Regions from separate parts of the Homo sapiens genome. Here region 1 is linked to region 2. Evidence: promoter capture Hi-C in 16 types of primary human blood cells and fetal thymus (Javierre and others, 2016). All regions are on one chromosome and are shown on one strand. Each heading gives the region's core, a stretch centred on a gene start or on the middle of the fragment in contact. The rest is flanking DNA. Distances are from core to core; before and after follow the strand shown.

What was found. The method cuts DNA at HindIII sites, captures the fragments that hold promoters and counts their contacts. A CHiCAGO score of 5 or more calls a contact.
Region 1: a contact is called between a fragment that was not itself captured here and the fragment with the promoter of C1orf105 in region 2, in 3 of 17 cell types (non-activated CD4 T cells, activated CD4 T cells and naive CD4 T cells). The highest score is 8.8, in non-activated CD4 T cells.

What each region holds. Positions count from the first base shown.
Region 1 is chr1:172,177,073-172,181,926 of GRCh38, forward strand. The region is part of intron 14 of DNM3 (dynamin 3); the gene reads left to right. Among named protein-coding and RNA genes, the nearest start is that of DNM3OS, 35 kb to the left of the region's middle. RefSeq lists an enhancer at 4,074-4,123. The HindIII fragment of the contact is 1,836 bases long and covers 2,186-4,021 here.
Region 2 is chr1:172,417,279-172,421,990 of GRCh38, forward strand. C1orf105 (chromosome 1 open reading frame 105) reads left to right here and starts at 3,407. Exons shown (of 7, transcript NM_139240.4): 1 at 3,407-3,628. The coding sequence starts at 3,608. All of the region lies in intron 1 of LOC102724528 (a long non-coding RNA gene), which reads right to left. It also overlaps a transcript of DNM3 not described here. The HindIII fragment of the contact is 10,347 bases long and covers 1,292-4,712 here.

The sequences.
Region 1 (4,854 bases), core at 1,854-4,353, 240 kb before region 2:
GCGATGGTGTGTTTTGAGTTTGAGAGAACAATGATATAATTCTGAAAATGTATTTTTTTCCAGTAAGAGCCAGTTTTTCAAAGTTTCTTTTGCAGTAGTCCTCTCTTATCCATGGTTTTGCTTTTGCAGTTTCAGTTACCTGTGGTCAACTGTGGTCCGAAAATAGGTGAGTGTTGTACAAGAATAGAGAGAGAGAGAGAGAGACACCACATTCACGTAACTTGTATTATAGTATATTGTTATTATTGTTCTATTTTATTATTAATTATTGTTATCAATCTCTTACAGTGCCTAATTTATAAATTCGACTTTATCATAGCTATGTATGTATGGGAAAAAAGACATGGTATATTTAGGGTTTGTTACAATTCAAGGTTTTGGACATCCACTGTGGATCTTGGAATGTATCCCCTACACATAAGGGGAAGTGGGGGCGCTACTGTACTTTCTAAAACCAAGTTGGATAATTGAAAATGTTGAGAAAGAAGTTTAGGATAAAGGACTTCATTACCTGCCTTGTGGGGGCTTAGAAATGTAAGATAACTAAGAGACAAAATTACGGGATGAGAGTAAGAGTTAGGGATGAGACAATAGGAGTAAGGGAAGTAATGTTAAAAGATACCTAACTGTGTGTTATAAAGCACTTTGGCTCTGAGTGGACTTATAGCCAACCCAGGGGAAATGCTAACAGTGATGTGGTTTTGGTATCCATAAGACAAACACAATCTGAGAGAAATGTCTCCATTGGATCTTCCTAAAGGTCATGCACATCCTCAGTATTATCCTGTGGTAAATACTATATTTTATAGGGTTTTTTTCCCTTAATGTGCCCAATGAATATACAGTCATACATTGCTTAACGATATAATTATATTCTAAAAGTTGTGTTATCAGGCGCTTTCTTTGTTGTCCAAACATCATAGAGTGTTCTTACACAAAGCTAGATGGTCTAGCCCACTACATGCCTAGGCTGTTTGTTTTGTTCCTAGATTACAAACCTGTAAAGCCTGTTTCTGTACTGGATACTGTAGGCAATTGTAACACTGTGCTAAGTATTAGTGTATCTAAACATATCTAAACAGAGGAAAAGCTACAGTAATAATACTGTCATATAATCTTATGAGACCACTGTCATTGAAGGTGTGGTCTCTTCTCAACTAAAATGTGGTTATGTGGCATATGGCTGTAATAAGAAGAAGAAAAAAATCCAATTCCAATCCATCCAACACACTGGTGTTAAAAAATAAACTTAAATCTTAAGAAAGTGTCCAGAGATTGATTTTTCCATTGAGAGTAATTTATTCATTTATTTAAAAATATTTATTGAGTATTTATTATGTACTTGAGTCTGTATAATTCTGAGAGTACAGTAGTAAATTTTTTACATATATGAAGTGAAGATGACTGGAGAGGGGAGTAGGAGGTTGATGTGTAAGTCAGAGAATCCACAAGTAAGGAAGGGATAGGAATGAACATAGATGAAGCAGTTAAAAGAAGCAAGGTAGTAAGATAGTGCATGCCGTGATGATGAAGAGAGGGAGAGAGACAGAGAGAAAGGGTGTGCAAGAGATACAGCAAGAGAGCAAAACAGAGAGAGAAAGAGAGACAGAGAATGGACCCTGGTTTACTTCAACTTCAAGCTGATGTTACAGAGATATCAATGAAAGGAAGAAAGAGTAAGTCACTGGGTTTGATTATTAGTTGATCATCAGTGATCTTTAGGATTTCATTGTCAATACAATGGTAAAGACAGAAGCTAGATTGCAGGGGGTTAAGGGGTCACCTTATGGAGATGAAATAGAATAAGTCTTATTCCAGCTCCATGGGCATGTCTCTATCGCTTTATGTCTCAGTCCATAAAATAGAGCAAAAATGGTGATCCTCCTCTAGTCTAAAATATAAGGAATGCTTTGAACTGCTGGGTGAGCTAATACTCTAAAGCCAGGGCGGTGATAGTAGTTATCTGTGTGTACTTTGAATGAAACTGGACTTAGAATGCTGAGCTAGTTGTTTTGTGGAGCCTACTTTCAGAATGTCACCTCTAATTTTGCATTCATGAAAAGCATTCTCCTGCCTGGACTAGAATCCAAAAATTTTTTGTTTATTATTAGTGGTGACTGATTGTCATTTGTGGACTGTGATCTACATGTAATGAAGTGGAATTTGGCCACTGGTTGTGTTGCAAAGCTTTTCTGAGTAGTGTTATTGCATCTTAGTTTTGACAAAGTTTGTTACTCCCACTAGTATTTAACTGGTATTAAATTCAAGATTATATTTTCATAATGTTGTTTGGAAACCAAAAGAAAATAATTGGTATGAACGTGCTTTGAAAAGTTAAAGGATTATATAAGTATTAATTATAATTATCATTAAAGTGATTTAATAGAAGTATTATTCTACTAAAATAAAATAAGAACTGCTAAATTCAAGATGTCATTGAGAAGAGGGGAGAAGTTTTTTTTGCTATGGTTTATTTCAGCTTCTGTATAACTTACATGGACTTTCTAAGAAAAATGTATACAGGCAATATTTATAAATATGTGTGTATATTTTAATGATGCTATGCCGGATCATTTCTGCTTGGATTATTTGTGGCCTTATTTAATTCTGGACTTATTTTCCAGCATAGTTTTGGGAATACAGATTCAATAATTTTTAGATATAACCAATAAGTACTGGGTGACTACTCTGTAAAAGCACTTCTTCATATCTCACATTTTAATCTTCACAATAGCTTCATCAGAGCAGGTGTTATTACTTTTTTATGTATTAAAAAACTAAGGCTCTGAGAGGTTAATTAGATTTTCGCCCATGGCGTACATAGCAGGGATTAGACGACTAGAACCCTACCATTAGTAGATAATAAGCTCAGGTGGTGAAAATCAATTAGCTTCAGTAAAGCCTAATTGTATCTGTAAATATGTTACAAATATCATACCGTGTCTCTGAGTTCTGAGTCAAATTTGCAGTGTTTTTGAAGCAGCATTGCCTTCTGTTACCTGGCTGCTCTTGTATAGTTTAGCATGAATGCATGGCAGTTTGCCCTGTAGGAACAAATCTAGTCTATGTGGATATACTATCATGATTCAGTTAGGTCTCAAGATCAGTAAATTAATTTATGTAAAGAATAAGATACTATGTATTTCGGTTTTTCAATACAGAACCATGAGTAGGAGAGTTTGTATGTTTACTGCATGCTAACCAACACTTGTTTGTTCTTTATGGTTTACCAATTTCACTCGTTAGATCCTGACTTTTACCCTGTATCGTAGATAGGGCTGAGATTATGCACCTCATTTTACTCACAAGGAAACTAAAGCCAAAGAACAGTGTGTGATTTTCTCAGTAGCCTTCAAATATATTGGCCTAGAAAATATTCTGATAGATAAATAGTCTAAGGACAAGTGGATTCATTGTAATATCTGCAATGCATTTTATTTCTTATATAATTAAGAGCTTACTGCTAGAATACAGTGTGATTTAGGTAAAACTTCTCAACATATAGCATACTTGAGGGAAAACAGAAGATCATAAAAAGTTTCCTTCTTTTATTGCAGGAATAGCATATGATTTATTTGAAGCCTAATTATTTTCCAGAGGAATGCTCTACATGTTTCCAATAGCTGTTTTGTGTTTCTGTAGAGGGTTAGAGGAGAAGCTGCCAGTTTCCTCCCAATACTGATGTTGCAAATCTCAGAACTTTAATCTGGAACACTCTCCTCTGTTATGTATATGTATGAAAATTTGCCCTACCTATTACCTTACTTTGGCATGTGGCATTTACTTGTGAAAAATGTCACAATATCTAATAGTTTATTTCCTACTCATGGATATAAGGCAAAATAACATTAAACAAGAATAAATATCTGTTTACCAACATTTAAATGATAGTTCTTTTGTTGTCAACTGGCAAGTACGGAGCACTTACCAAGTGCCGCCACTCCGCTGGGCTCTGGGGAACACAGCTCTTCCTTAGCTGAGCTCATAATCTGGACTGTGAGGCCTACACATCAGGGCAGAAAGCTTCTAGTTTCACTTTTCATATAGTAATTTTGAAAGCATAAGAGGCTTTGCAAAACATCTTTTAAAATAAAGATGCTTCTCCACCATCTCTAAGATAAGTTGGTTCTTTTTGGCAAAGGTGATTTTAATTGTTAGTACATTTCCAAGACAAGAAATGCAATCTGTTGACACGCCCTTCAAAATAATCAGATGAAAACAAGGAACACAAATATGTCCAGCCCTGAACTCTTCATTTTTCCTCTTGATGAATCCTTTCTTATGCTTTAAAACACTTGAGTTTACACACACACACACACACACACACACACACACACACACATATTTCTGGTAGGCGTGGAGATATATATCTATATATATCTTGCTATTAGGGCAATTCCCTGAAAGATTACACTACCTTCTTTATGCATAACGTCAATGCCTGATATTAAACAGAAACGAACTATGTGACTATGCTTTCCTTTTTAAATATGTGAACGTATTTCTCTACAGAGTTGTTTTGTAGCCGTATTGCTACTAAACTGGTGCCCAGCTCCAGGCCTGCAGACTGCTGACACACAATTAATCTCACAAATTTATGAATGCCAAAGCATGGAGCAAAATGAAAACAACTGGGGGAATGTTTAAGGGAAATAATTGGACTGTATCCAGATGTGCATGTGTAAAACATCACCACTTAACTCCTCCCCCATATCCTGTCTGAAGACAGGGTTTTTTTTTTTTTTTTTGAAAATAAACTGGGGTTATTTGAAAGAAGTTGTGGTCTCTGACTAAAACTGAATAAGCAAGGCCAGGCTGGCCATAATTCTGTGTGTTCTTGTATTTTTGTTTCTT
Region 2 (4,712 bases), core at 2,157-4,656:
AGTGTAGACTTCTGCCAAAAACCAGAGGGAAAGCTTTATTTGGCCTGCTGTTTTCCTACTTACAAAGCTGTTCATTGCAATGTAGGGTTTACTGTATTTTCTCTAGCTGCAAATCATCTCCCTGCTGAACACAAGAAAGGCTGATGTCAAATGAAGCACAACTTGGACCCTCATTTCATTATCCATAGGTCTGATGAAATGCAAGCCAGCCTAGGGAAATGGAGAAAGATCCAGCAGACCAGATTTCATTTACCTTGGGCCCACTTCAGAACAAATCAGAAATACAGTTATACCTAGCTCTTAGACAGAGGGAAATCCTAGAAAATCCTGGGGTTGCCATGGACCAGACCTTGCCTCCTAGTTTCCCTAGGCCTGAATCCAGGCTATTACACACCAGGACTACTCACCTGGAGCAAATTCTTATTTACAAATCCTTTTTTTCTGAGATCAACCTCTGGCATTCTCTGCATTGTGATTACATTGCTCATTTGATCTCTTGACACCTTCTAATTTACCTCACTTAAAAAAAATTTAACCTGCCATTGGCTACATCAACTCCCTCTCCCCCTATGGAGATTTCACAACATTCATTGAAATCTTTGGAAATAACTGAGTTTCACAAAATCAGGGTTGAAAATCAAATATACAAGTTATAAAGGTATTTGGCTCGGGGACTAGTCCCAGTTCTCCTGAATAAGAGTGCATGGATTTATCATTCCATGGTGCAAAATAAGAAGCTTTTTGAGTGAGCTCAAATGGCTCATACCTAGAACATTGCTAGTAGCCAGGAAAAGTCCTGGGAACTGCTAACTTAGCTATGTGATGTCCCTTCATTTCCTTTGCATGTCTGCATGTTTTTGTGTGTGATTTGAATTTGACTTTTGTGAGCTATTTTTGCATGCTATTATTTGGGTTTATTTTATAATTTAAACATTGTTTTCTTCCTCTGCATCTGTGTCTTTCTTTTTGTTATTTTGTTTTGTTTTGTTTTGTTTTTACTAGGCGACCCCCTCCTGCAGTTCCAGGACGACCATCCTAACCCCCATCATTCATCTCCTTTTGTTTCCAACAACATGTCTATCCATGGTATTTAAAAGCTTTTCATTTGCACTATATGTCGTATGTACATAAAAACTTTTATTTTTCATCCATGTGTATAATAAAAACAAAGTTTATTCTATATAAAAATGAAGTGTGTTCTGTTTCTTTTTTTAAAGAAGACCTAAATTTAAAAAAGAATTTGTTTCAACTAAAACAAGGTAAGGTGAATATATTATGTGTTCCTCTAAGAAGCTTAATTCAAAAGTTCTTAAAGCATTGTGATTTAAGACGGTCTTTGGTAGAGACTAATAATCTACCTTCAAGTGAAATTTCTGTCCAATAGAAGAATAAAAAGAAAAAGAAAATTTATGGATGTCTAGAAAAAACACAGAAGACTAAATAATTCCAATCCACCTCCAGGAATCCCATTTTTACTTATTATTGCACCAAAATATTTTTTCCTATTATTGTTTTTCTAAACACTCTTAAGGGAGATAAAATGTAAGATCATAGAAGAAACTGTAGAGCAAAAACACATAAACCTCATAAATTCTATATGGCAAATGTAAGGGCGAAAAACCACATCATTCAGAATAAAAGTACAAGGCAAGGAAATGTTGCCACCTTGAGAAGAAAGACTCTTCATGATGTCAGTAAAGCACTAGAAAAATGGAGTCCATATAAGTTTGAAGGAATAGAGAACTTTTTATTCCTCTATCCTCAAATGGTAATTCTAACACTAAAATTTTAATCTATAATTTTTTAACAAGCATCCCAAAGATGTATCCAAATAAAATGTTTATTATTTAGGTAATATAGTACATTCCACCAAATATGTGATCTGAAGCCTTCCCAAAGGTTTAAGATTTAATTCAGAATTTTATTTTTTGAAAATTTATGTGGCCTAAAATAGAACTTGAAAGTAGTCCTTCTCAAATGAGATCACTTCTGAATGTGCTCCCCTTCAGCATATTAAGATGACAGAAAACTACATGACAAGAGAGTCAAAAAAATCATTCATCAGTTCTATTTACTTCACATCTGACCTAGGCAAGCCCTGGCAAAGGAGGTATTTGGAAGATGTGGGCAGGAACCCCCAGTTGTAAAAGGGAGAGTCCTCATTAGTAATGCTGTTTCTTCGGACCACAAATTTTTTTAAGGACTGAGTTCTCCACTCAAAAATGAAAAATCAGTTTCTTGGTTTAAAATGTTCATATGGCATGTTACATTATTTTAATTGTATCCCCGGTCCAGTGACTACCATTTAAAATCAGTGATAACTAAGAAAGTTCAAAGGCTCCAAACCAAGGCATCAACTGAAGCTCATGTATAGCAGGAAGGAGGTGACTTGATGTAAAATAGCACATAGCATGCAGTCTTTTGTCCTTTCCTTCCCCTCCAGTCCAGGCATTTGATTTTTAAATCAATATTCTTAGTGGATAGCATTCTTCATCCCAATAGACAAAAATGTACCTAGATGATTTCATACCACCTCCCCAAATGAAAACCGAAGTTGTCAAAGAGAAGGTTTTCTTCAATTCATTTTTTAAAAGTGTTTGGTACTTTTCCACTTTGTCTTAAACATGGACTTATTTTTATATGCAGTGTTACACAGTTTAGATGTATAAAACTTAAATTGACCTGATGAATGATGAGAAGGAAAAACTCCAGTCATAACAGAATGAAATGACAACCTTACTCAGTTTTCCTTAACAAAGAAGTGTGTTCCCTTCCTTACATTCTATAGGCAAGAAAAAAGAGGGCAGGGGAAAGGGATGGGGGGCAGCCTGGAGTAAAATTAAATTATGCTAAGATTTGTTAATATGTATTTAGTAAATAGTATTTCTATGTTTCATAATATACCTTTCCCCAACTCTTCTTACCTCCACCTCCACCCTGCTATGTTTAATAGACTTGAAAAATTACTCCCTTTTTCAGAGTTGATCATAACTCAGGATAGTCAGGAAGAGCCAAACTATTATGCCTTTAGTAAACATAATATTCCTTATATATTTTCATTCCTTTATTTATGCATCAAACATTTCTTGAATTCATGATAATGTCCTGGACCCTGGGAATACCAGAGAAGTAACAGAATAAAAGTAGCTTACAAAATAGCTAAATAAGCAATTACAATGTAGTGCTACAATAAGAGAAAAGTTTGGTTGTCTTTCCAGGGAGAACTGTTCTGACTTCAGTACTGAAGCAGCTATCTGAGTTTTAGTATACTGTTATCAACTTTACCCAACACATGCTAATGTTCCAGAACATTGTGATTTTGACTTCTAACAAAGAAAGGAATACTAGAACTCATTTCAGCCAATCAGAAACTGAGCTTTTCATTCTGAATGGAATTATATGATTCAAGATGTAAATCACACAGATGTTGGTAGAGAAAAAGGCATACTGGTATTGAAACTGTAAACTGGCCTGTTTACTTCGTCTCCTAACAAAAAACACTTTGGATTCAGGTTCTCCACAGCAGTCTTCCACTGGCCACAGTGAGGGGAGCTAGGTTTCCCCAGTCTCCAGCTAGAAAAACTCAGAACATCTAAAGATCTGAAAGATGGAAAAAAGAGAACTAAAGGTAGGAAAAAAATAAATGAAACTTCCAATTCTTTCCTTATGGGGTTACCCTGGTAAATGTTTGTATGCCTTGGAGGCCACATAAACATTGAGGGGTGTTTCAACAGACATCCTAGAAGTTGAAAGCCAAAAGAAGGTAAGGAAATAACAGCTGATGTTCAGTTACAGGTGAAGATAATTTTAATGGGTTTGGGGCATGATAAATTTCAATGCTCTTTATCGTATAGTTTGGAAAAAATGTTGTACTTGCCAACATCTTTTATAACTCAGCATTTAAGTATGATTTTTTTAAATCCTCAGAAAATTGATACCAGATTCTTTAGTGCAGTTCCCTGAGATTCTGAAGTAAACCTTCTCAACTGTGAATGCACTTTAAAACAATGAATCTCAGTCACAGGAAGTTAAGATTGCTGAGAAAGAAAAAAAAACTTGTATAGACTTTTATAATTACTAGGGTCTAAATCTGAATAAATCACATTGAGCTTATGACACTGTATGTTTCCTATTTAAAGGGATATACTAGCTGTCTCTATTACCATAGTACAGGTGCTCCTTGACTTATGATAGGGTTACATCTCAATAAACCACCACAAGTTGAAAATATTGTAAGTCAAAAATGCATGCAATACCCTGATGAACCCATGATAAAGTAAAAAAATCCTAAGTTGGGGAGGACGCAGAGCAAGATGGCCAAACAGAAGCCTTCACTGATTGTTCTCCATGCACGAACATCAAATTTAACAACTATCTACACAAAAAAGCACCTTCATAAGAACCAAAAATCAGTGATCACAAAGTGATCACAGTACCTGGTTTTAACTTCGTATTGTTGAAAGAAGCACTGAGGAAGATAAGAAAGACAATCTTGAATTGCTGACACCACCCCTCCCCCATCCCCTGGCAGCAGCCACATAGTGTGGAGAGAGAATCTGTGCACTTGGAGGGAGGGCACAGCGATTGTGGGACTCTAGAATTCAGTGCTGCCAATACGGGGCAGAACTTAGCTGTTGCCAATGGAGGGACCATTTAGACCACCCTTAGCCAGAGGAGAATTGCCCATCCCAGGTTTCAGAAACTGAGTTTTG